Regions from separate parts of the Homo sapiens genome. Here all the other regions are linked to region 1. The links are contacts of gene promoters, found by promoter capture Hi-C in human tissues and cell types (Jung and others, 2019). All regions are on one chromosome and are shown on one strand. The core of a region is centred on a gene start or on the middle of the fragment in contact, and the rest is flanking DNA. Distances in the headings are between cores, read along the strand shown. Region 1 holds the start of TMEM213 (transmembrane protein 213). Region 2 overlaps ATP6V0A4 (ATPase H+ transporting V0 subunit a4). Region 3 overlaps KIAA1549.

The links. The method cuts DNA at HindIII sites, captures the fragments that hold promoters and counts their contacts. A contact is called where the count stands out against the background at its distance.
Region 2: a contact is called between a fragment that was not itself captured here and the fragment with the promoter of TMEM213 in region 1, in 2 of the 25 tissues and cell types used here (H1 embryonic stem cells and liver).
Region 3: a fragment that was not itself captured here is called in contact with the fragment with the promoter of TMEM213 in region 1 in 5 of the 25 tissues and cell types used here (H1 embryonic stem cells, aorta, mesenchymal stem cells and 2 more).

What each region holds. Positions count from the first base shown.
Region 1 is chr7:138,796,675-138,799,374 of GRCh38, forward strand. TMEM213 (transmembrane protein 213) reads left to right here and starts at 1,320. Exons shown (of 3, transcript NM_001085429.2): 1 at 1,320-1,512. The coding sequence starts at 1,431. It overlaps ATP6V0A4 (ATPase H+ transporting V0 subunit a4), which reads right to left and starts at 1,522. Exons shown (of 22, transcript NM_020632.3): 1 at 1,360-1,522. RefSeq lists a silencer at 1,290-1,584. The HindIII fragment of the contact is 6,104 bases long and covers 1-2,700 here.
Region 2 is chr7:138,726,734-138,729,433 of GRCh38, forward strand. It overlaps ATP6V0A4 (ATPase H+ transporting V0 subunit a4), which reads right to left. Exons shown (of 22, transcript NM_020632.3): 18 at 2,028-2,129. Among named protein-coding and RNA genes, the nearest start is that of SVOPL, 27 kb to the left of the region's middle. The HindIII fragment of the contact is 5,302 bases long and covers 1-2,700 here.
Region 3 is chr7:138,892,230-138,894,929 of GRCh38, forward strand. KIAA1549 reads right to left here. Exons shown (of 20, transcript NM_001164665.2): 10 at 2,113-2,297. Among named protein-coding and RNA genes, the nearest start is that of KIAA1549, 88 kb to the right of the region's middle. The HindIII fragment of the contact is 4,051 bases long and covers 1-2,700 here.

The DNA of each region.
Region 1 (2,700 bases), core at 70-2,569:
ACCTCTCAGGCAGAGTTCATCCCATCCTCCTTTTTATTCCCATCACAGTGGAAGGTACCCCTATTTGAGTCTTGCCAGGTTGCATCAAATTTCTTTCTTCCGGGTTTGGTTCCCTGCTGCACTGTGCTCTCAAGGGGAAGAGGCGTGTCTCAGTCATCTCAGTCTCCAGTGCCTAGGATGAGACCTTTTATATACATGTGGGTCTTCAATAAATGTTTTAGACGGAATGCAGAGCTCTAGTCAAGTTACTCCTCAGCTCAAAATCTCTACAGAACCTTCCCCTTTGCTTCCTGACTTTGTTTCAAATTCCTCTACCAGGCACGCAGAAGCTTAGCCCACAGCTCTCCTCTTGCCTCCCCACCTCACATGCCTTGGCTCACCTGCGCTTCTGGGTGCTGCTGGTACAGCCACCCTCTGACACTTCCTTACCTCTGGACCTTTGCTCATCTGTCCCTCTACCTATAATGCCATCTTCCCCTCTCCCCCTGTCAAAATTCTAGCCATCCTTCAAGGCCCAGGCCAAATGCCATTTTCTTTTTTTTTTTTTTTTTTTTTTTGGAGATGGAGTCTCCCTCTGTCGGCCAAGCTGGAATGCAGGGTCAGGAGCATCTCAGCTTACTGCAACCTCTGTCTTCCGGGTTCAAGCGATTTTCCTGCCTCAGCTTCCCAAGTGGCTGGGACTACAGGCATGCACCACCACACCTGGCTAATTTTTGTATTTTTATTAGAGATGGGGTTTCACCATTTTGGCCAGGCTGGTCTTGAACTCCTGACTTCAAGTGATCCACCTGCCTCAGCCTCCCAGAGTGCTGGGACTACAGGGTGAGCCCCCATGCCCAACCTCAAATGCCATTTTCTTCTTGAAGCATCCCATCAGCAGATGTGGCCTCCACTGTTGAAACCCACAGTGCTTTATCCTCCCAAGCCATTCCTCAAACACGGTTCTGGGGTTGAATGATGCGTGTTTGTAATTAACGCACTTCGACAGCAGGTATCTCCCAACTTCAGCATAGTGGGTGCTCAGTGAATATTGGCCCAAATGGAATTGAGCATCCATGCTACACCTGCAGATGGGAGAGGCAGCAAACTCATGTCCCAGGAACCAGCATGACACAGATCTCTCTTGTCCTCCCCTTGTTTCTCAATAAGGACAATATTTGCGCTCAGGGGAGAAGGGCACAGCTTGCCCCTCCCTTCCTTCCTCAGCCAACGGTTTGGCTTCCCTTCTAGAGAGGTGAGAGAAGGTGTGACAGGCCAAGTTTCCTTTGCTCCACCCCATGGTGTTTCCCCCAAACACCCAGCATAAGTTCACCTCTGGCAGAGTTGCTTTCCAGCTCCTGCAGGTGGGAGTCGACTCACCTGCAGCAGGCACTCGGCACAACTCCGCAGGACCGGCTCACCTGCACCGGGCACTCAGCACAGCCTCCAGCATGCAGCGCCTCCCCGCTGCCACCCGGGCCACCCTGATCCTCAGCCTGGCCTTTGCCTCCCTCCACTCGGCTTGCTCGGCAGGTAGCGTTATGAGCTTTATTCATGGCCAGGCTGGGAAGGGGGAGGGAAGGAGGGAAGAGAGGTGGGAGGGAAAGAAGGAGGAGGGGGAAGATTCTTTGGCCAGGGTTGGTCCTGCGCAAAGGAAGGAGGAAACAGAACTTTCTCATCTGAAGGATTAGGCAGGGGGTGGGAGGTGGGGCTGGGGCAGGGGGGGTCTTAGGTTGGCCTGAGACGGAGATCAGATACTCAATTCCTCAGCTAAGGCAGGAGCAGCCACCTCTCTTGGCCTTTGCCACAAAGAAAGGAAAAAGTTATTTGCTGGAGTCTCACCCATCAGGGGACCAAAATGATATCTCTTGGTCCGCTGTGTCCTGAAGGCTCCTTCTCAGCCCCACTGGGCTGTCGTGCTTTGCAATCCTCCCTGTGCACATTTGTGTCTGACCTTCCCTTTCCTAAGTCCTCCATCCCTCCCTGCCCCTTGTACTTTCTCTGCGACTTTCACAAAACCTGACTGCCAGGAGGGCTGCCATTCACTGTCTCCCACCCTCCTGCCTCCCCGGGCACTGGAAATGCTGGGTTATCTCCCCATTTTCCTGTGGAGGCTGGAAGGCTGATCTACATCCCCTGCCTTGCCCTGCCAGGCCGGGTTCTGCAACTCACGGCAGAGGGACCTTGGTTACCATCTTCTGCTCCTGGCTTTGATCTTGTTCTCAGCCACCTCAGAACACCACCACACTCTCTATGCCCTGCAACACTCCTGCTCCCAAAACCAACCCTGCCCCCAAAGTCCTGTGTCTGCCCCTCTCATCCTCAGACTCTCTTCTGTAGCCACTGCCAGGGGTGTTGGTGTTGAGGTTCAAGACGTGCACTCTTGAGCCGCTGAGCCTGAACCCAGGTCCAGCTTCCATGACTCACTAGCTATGCGACCTCGAGCAAATGACTTTACCTCTCTATGCCAAGTTTCCTCCTTTATCTCATGGGGACAATCATAGTGCTTGTCAAGACGAATTGATGTAATTTCATGTAAAGAACTTAGAAATAGCCCATAGAACACACACAGTGAATGTCAGCAATTATGGTAAGCACATTCATTTTATTTTCCAACTTCACCCCTCCCCAAATAAGAGTGCTGAGTTTCTTTCTACTTACCCCGACAGTGCCTTGCTTATGATGGGAGCTCAGAATCAGAAGACAAGTTTAACTGCACTG
Region 2 (2,700 bases), core at 136-2,635, 70 kb before region 1:
ACAACCAACAGCCGTGCATCCCAAGGGCCAAGGGAACAGGCCTCCACGCCGTCTTCAGGAGCTCCTGTTACCAGTCAGTTTCAGAGCTATCATCCATGAAGGCAGACTAGGAAAACCCTCTCTCCCTCCTTCCCTCTATTTAAGTCATCTGGTGGCGCAAAGGAGAAATCTACCACTTTGAGATCAGCAACTATTTAAAGAGCTTGTGTGGTACAAAGAGCAAGACAAGCTATTATTTTACAGTCCTGGAACTCAGGAGAGCCTGCAGTAACCTGGCTCTTGGCTTATGGACAGATTTAGTTCCTAGAAAAAAAAAATTACAATCACTTGAGGCCATGAGTTTGAGAGCAGCCTGGGCAGCATAGTGAGAGCTCATCTCAAAAAAAAAAAAAAAAAAAAAAAAATGCTGAGCCAGGCAGGGGGGCATGCCTGTTACTTGGGAGGCTGAGGCAAGAGGATGGCTTGAGCCCGGGAGTCGGAGGCTGCAGTGAGCTATGATTGTGCTGGTGAATAGCCACTGCACTCTGGCCTCAGAGACAGAGAGAGACCTTGTCTCTAGAAAACAAAACAAAACAAAAAAAACTTGCATCTACTTCTCCAAACAGGTATTTGCCACCCTCTTTGAAATACTTGGTCACCTGTCTGGACAAGCACCCACCTCAACAACCCTCAACCACCTTGCTCTCCCACCAGTTAACCAAACAATAACCAAGTCTTCCTTGCTTTGTCTTCCTCTTTATGAATACCTCATATAGATTACGTTTCAGCTAAGCTTTGGAACGAGTTCGGACTGGCATAAGGAGACAGTGGGAGGAGAGGCAGGTGACAGAGAAACAGAGCGTCACATAGGGACAAACTTCCTGAACTCAAGTCTCGTCATGTCTAGGTCCCTGACTCTGCTGCCTGTCCAGGTCAATATCCAACAAAGATCTCAGAAAAATAGAATTTAATCTGAACATATCTACAACCATTTAAAACATACACGGTCTCAGCACATTCCGCTTAATCTTTTGCACTAATAGAGGAAAGCAGAGAACGACCATCTCAAACCGTCTGTGTGTCAGAGCTAGACGCTGATGTCCTCTGGAAGGTTAATCTTACTAAATCCTATTTGGTTCAGGCTGATATTAAACTCTGCTTCACCCCCCTAGTACATCTAAGGCTCAGGGGCAGTTTAGACAAAAAGAGAAAGTGGGCTGAACCTGGTATTTGGCAACAGGGGAAAAATCACAAACAAACAAAAACTGACCTAATTGAATTTGTTTACTCTTCTAATTCCCTGACACAATCTGTAACATAATACAGTAAAGTCTCACAACTTTAGAATATTAATGAAAAAAGCTTTTAATATTTGTTTTAAAAGTAAAATCATAATAAAATATTATTTATAACTAATAAAACAACCACATTCAGACCCTTATAAATCATTAACTACCACGAGACTCAGCACACATACACCCTGAACAAAGTCTGTCAGACATAAGGTTTATTTTATTTTATTTTATTTTTTGAGACGGTTTTTCGCCCTTTCGCCCAGGCTAGAGTGAAGTGTGATCTCGGCTCACCGCAATCTCCCCCACCACCCTGGGCTCAAGTGATTCTCCTGCCTCAGCCTCCCAAGTAGTTGGGATTACAGGTACCCATCACCATGCCTGGCTAATTTTGGTGTTTTTAGTAGAGATGGGGTTTCGCCACGTTAGCCAGGCTGGTCTCAAACTCCCGACCTCAGGTGATCCACCCGCCTCGGCCTCCCAAAGTGCTAGGATTACAGGCGTGGGCTACTGCGACCAGCCGAGACATAAGGCTTAAACGTGTTTGCCCTTAATAGAGCATCTCGTTGGAAATAAGACGGCCCAGTGGAAAAGTCTAGCTCCACAGAACGAAACATACTCAGGGCGGGTCAGTTCCTCAACACCATTCTTCTGGCCCTGGCAGCCCAGGACGATTCTCTCTAAACCCAAGATTCATCTTTCCAGAAACCCACATTCTTATGCAAAGTAGGGTGAACTGAAACAAACAGCCCTTACCTGGGATTTCCGATGACTGGCTCTAAGAATAAACGGCTTAATCAGAAGCATCCACGGCACAGAAATCAAAGCCATAACCACAAAGAAACTTTGGACTTCTTGCTGCAAGACCAAAATGGCGAGATCTCATCATTTTCACATGGCAGAACAGCACACTTTACGTGATGAAAATGACCACTATGGGCCACTTCACTAGCACTTTATTTTGAGAGATCTAAAGCATTTCAATGAATCCATTCACCTTCACGCCTGGAATATTCCCCTTGCAGATAGAGAAATATCTGTCCAGTGTTTCCAAATGTTCGACACGGGGTAGACACTGGAAACTCTCTGTATTCCTTATTCTGAGTAGTCCCTTGTACCATACGTAACCAATCTTTTAAACAAGAAGTACGCATGAAACATTATAAAGGCACCCCTTGTCTTGAACTCTGTCCCATGGGGGTCGTTTTCACCTGGGCCTGCATGAAAACTATGGCAGGCCTCATGACTTTACCAGTCACTCGGTGGTACTCAAAAGTCCTTGGGTCACTTTAAGTCACAAACAGTATTCAACCGGTAATTTTATATTTTGAGTCCTAGAAAATTATCTGAGCTCTCTTGCTCCTATCTCTTAAAAAAGAAAAAAGAAGTTCCTCACCATCGCTACCTGACTTTCATCCCTTCCATGTGG
Region 3 (2,700 bases), core at 173-2,672, 96 kb after region 1:
AAAAGTGAGAGAAGGAGAAAGCTTGGGGAATATTCCATTTTGACCCCAAGAGACGCTGTGCTCTGATAATTTACTGAAGTTACAGATAATAGATGGACTTCCATGGCAGTGTATACGTTAGGAAATGTGGCCCATAAAAGACCTAAATACATAACCGTCTACACTGGTTAACTCCCTCTGTAACAACACTCTTCAACAGAACAAAAACATTTCCAAACCTATTGTTGATCTTATTACAGTGAAATTCACACTATGAATCATTTAGTATACCCAGCACTTTTTTTCCAGGTTTCCCCATGCCATTCACCAGTATAACAAGAACAACAAAAGAACCTTAGCAGACTGTGTAAATAATAAACAAAGATAGGCAACAAACATAACATTAATGTATAAAATGCTTTTCATGTACTTGATAGCCATAAGCTTGCAATTTAATAAATACTTTGCATTTTTTTGTTAATTCATATGAAAAGACAAATACTCTTTCTTTGCTTTTACAAAAGTAAAATAAATTTTAAAGTAATGCATATTTTTTTTCCATTCGACAGGTCTAGGTTTGTAATATGCAGAATTTTTCATACCCAAGACAACCAAAATAAAGTTTAAAAATAAATAGGGCAATCTTTTATTCTTTGTTTTTTGACTTTTGCTTGTTTTTATCAAGCTTTTAAAGCAGGATGAGTCCTCCAAATCTGGGAGACCCACGGAAAGTGCATGTTAATCCAGCAGACTGTTAGTAACAGTGGACTGACTACCACGTTCCACTCCCTTGGTAAACACGCTGACTGATACTTATGCTGTACTAGTGAGTGCTCCTCTAGGCCTGGCATGTTTTTGCTCACACCAGGTGAGCTCAATGTTGACCAAAAGTCAATGTCTTTGCTCTGAAACCTGATGTGACCCTCGAATACTATGGAAACTGTTGAAACATACGTTGGAAAAGAAAATTGCTATTTCTATAAACACTTAAGTTGAATGCTTTGGAAAGACATAGGAAAGAGGGGTTACTTAAAAAATCTGCTGTCAAATTAGGTGTGAGTGAATTAACTCAAAAGTCTGCAAAATTAGGAGATAGGGAGTGGGGGGAGGTATTAAAAAAATCGAGAGAACTTTGCATTCAGGTAGCTTTGCTCTTCTCTAAGATAGGGAGTGGGGGGAGGTATTAAAAATCGAGAGAACTTTGCATTCAGGTAGCTTTGCTCTTCTCTAAAGAAACCCAAACTGGAACCTGAAACTGACACGTCATGGGTGTTGTTTATTGTAAGAAAGACCAAACACAATTCCTCTCAGTAGACCAACACTCAAAACAAAACAAGACTTGGGATATGTTGAAGGATTGGCAAATAAATGTCCATTCATATATTTTAAGTTAAAATGTTCAAGGTATGTATTGTTCGTTTTTAATGATCAAGGTGGGTAAGTGGGCTTCCAAATAGGGTGAACAGAAAATAAAGCAACTGACCAATGGAGTTGTACACAAAATAGATAAACAGATCTGAGAAAGTCTGCCTTGGCTCCTATCCTCTGAAAATATCCAGGGATAAAATAAATCAGAATTCGGCCTGGTGCGGTGGCTCATGCCTGTAATCCCAGCACTTCGGGAGGCCAAGGCAGGCAGATCTTTTGAGGCCAGGAGTTCGAGACCAGCCTCGCCAACATGGCAAAACCCTGTCTCTACTAAAAATACAAACACTGGCCAGGTGTGGTGGCACACGCCTGTAATCTCAGCTATTCGGAGACCGAGGCAGGAGAATCGCTTGAACCCAGGAGGCGGAGGCTGCAGTGAGCCAAGCTCACGCCACTGCACTCCAGCCTGGGTGACAGAGCCAGACTCTGTCTCAAAAAATACAAAATAAAATCATAGTAGAACCCGGAGGGCATGTCATGGCTAGGCTTTTATACAGTTTCACATTCTTGGACTGTATTTACTACCACAGAAGGAGGGTTTCAGGAAGCAGAAACAAAGGCAAAGTGATACCACTATTAAAGCCAGAAGATTTCCATAATAGCCCTCCCTCTTCCTCATCTTTCAGTATCAAGAGCCCAAACTCATCCTATCCCTGCCCCACAAAACTGCTTATAGGAACACTGGGGGAAGAGGCTGCCCGTTACCTTCTGACGCTGCTGAATGTTGGCCACAGTGTCAGGCTGAAAGTCTAGCTTGTCTGTGCGGCATAGTTTCCAGTAGAGGATGACAACAATCACCATCACCACCAGCACTGGGATGACCACGCCAACAATGACCCACAAGTTGTTGCTCTGGGATTCCGGAGACGGCCTCTTCACCCTGTCGACAGCTGCAGACAAGGAAGAAAGGTCTTTCAATAATTCCTTCTTCACTCATGCACTAGATTGCACGTGTCTTCTATGAGAAACTCAGAAGTCCCTGACATTCCAGCTCAAGATAGCTGGTTCCAGGTTCTAATCTCCTGATGACAGGAAATGTGACCAGCAGAGAAACACAACATACAATGTTACATCTAGAATACATCAGGGATCACAACGACATATGGATATATCCAAAGGTACATGGCTGAATTAATGGCAAAGCTCAGTTAATTCCAGGTCTCCTGATTTCCAGTTTATTCTACTAGCTCACCCGTAACTTATCACTGCAGGATATTTCCACACCAAAACTGGTTCTGCACAACTTTGTACAAAGGCAGTTCTCTTCAAAAGTGGAGAGAAAAACAGCTGTGT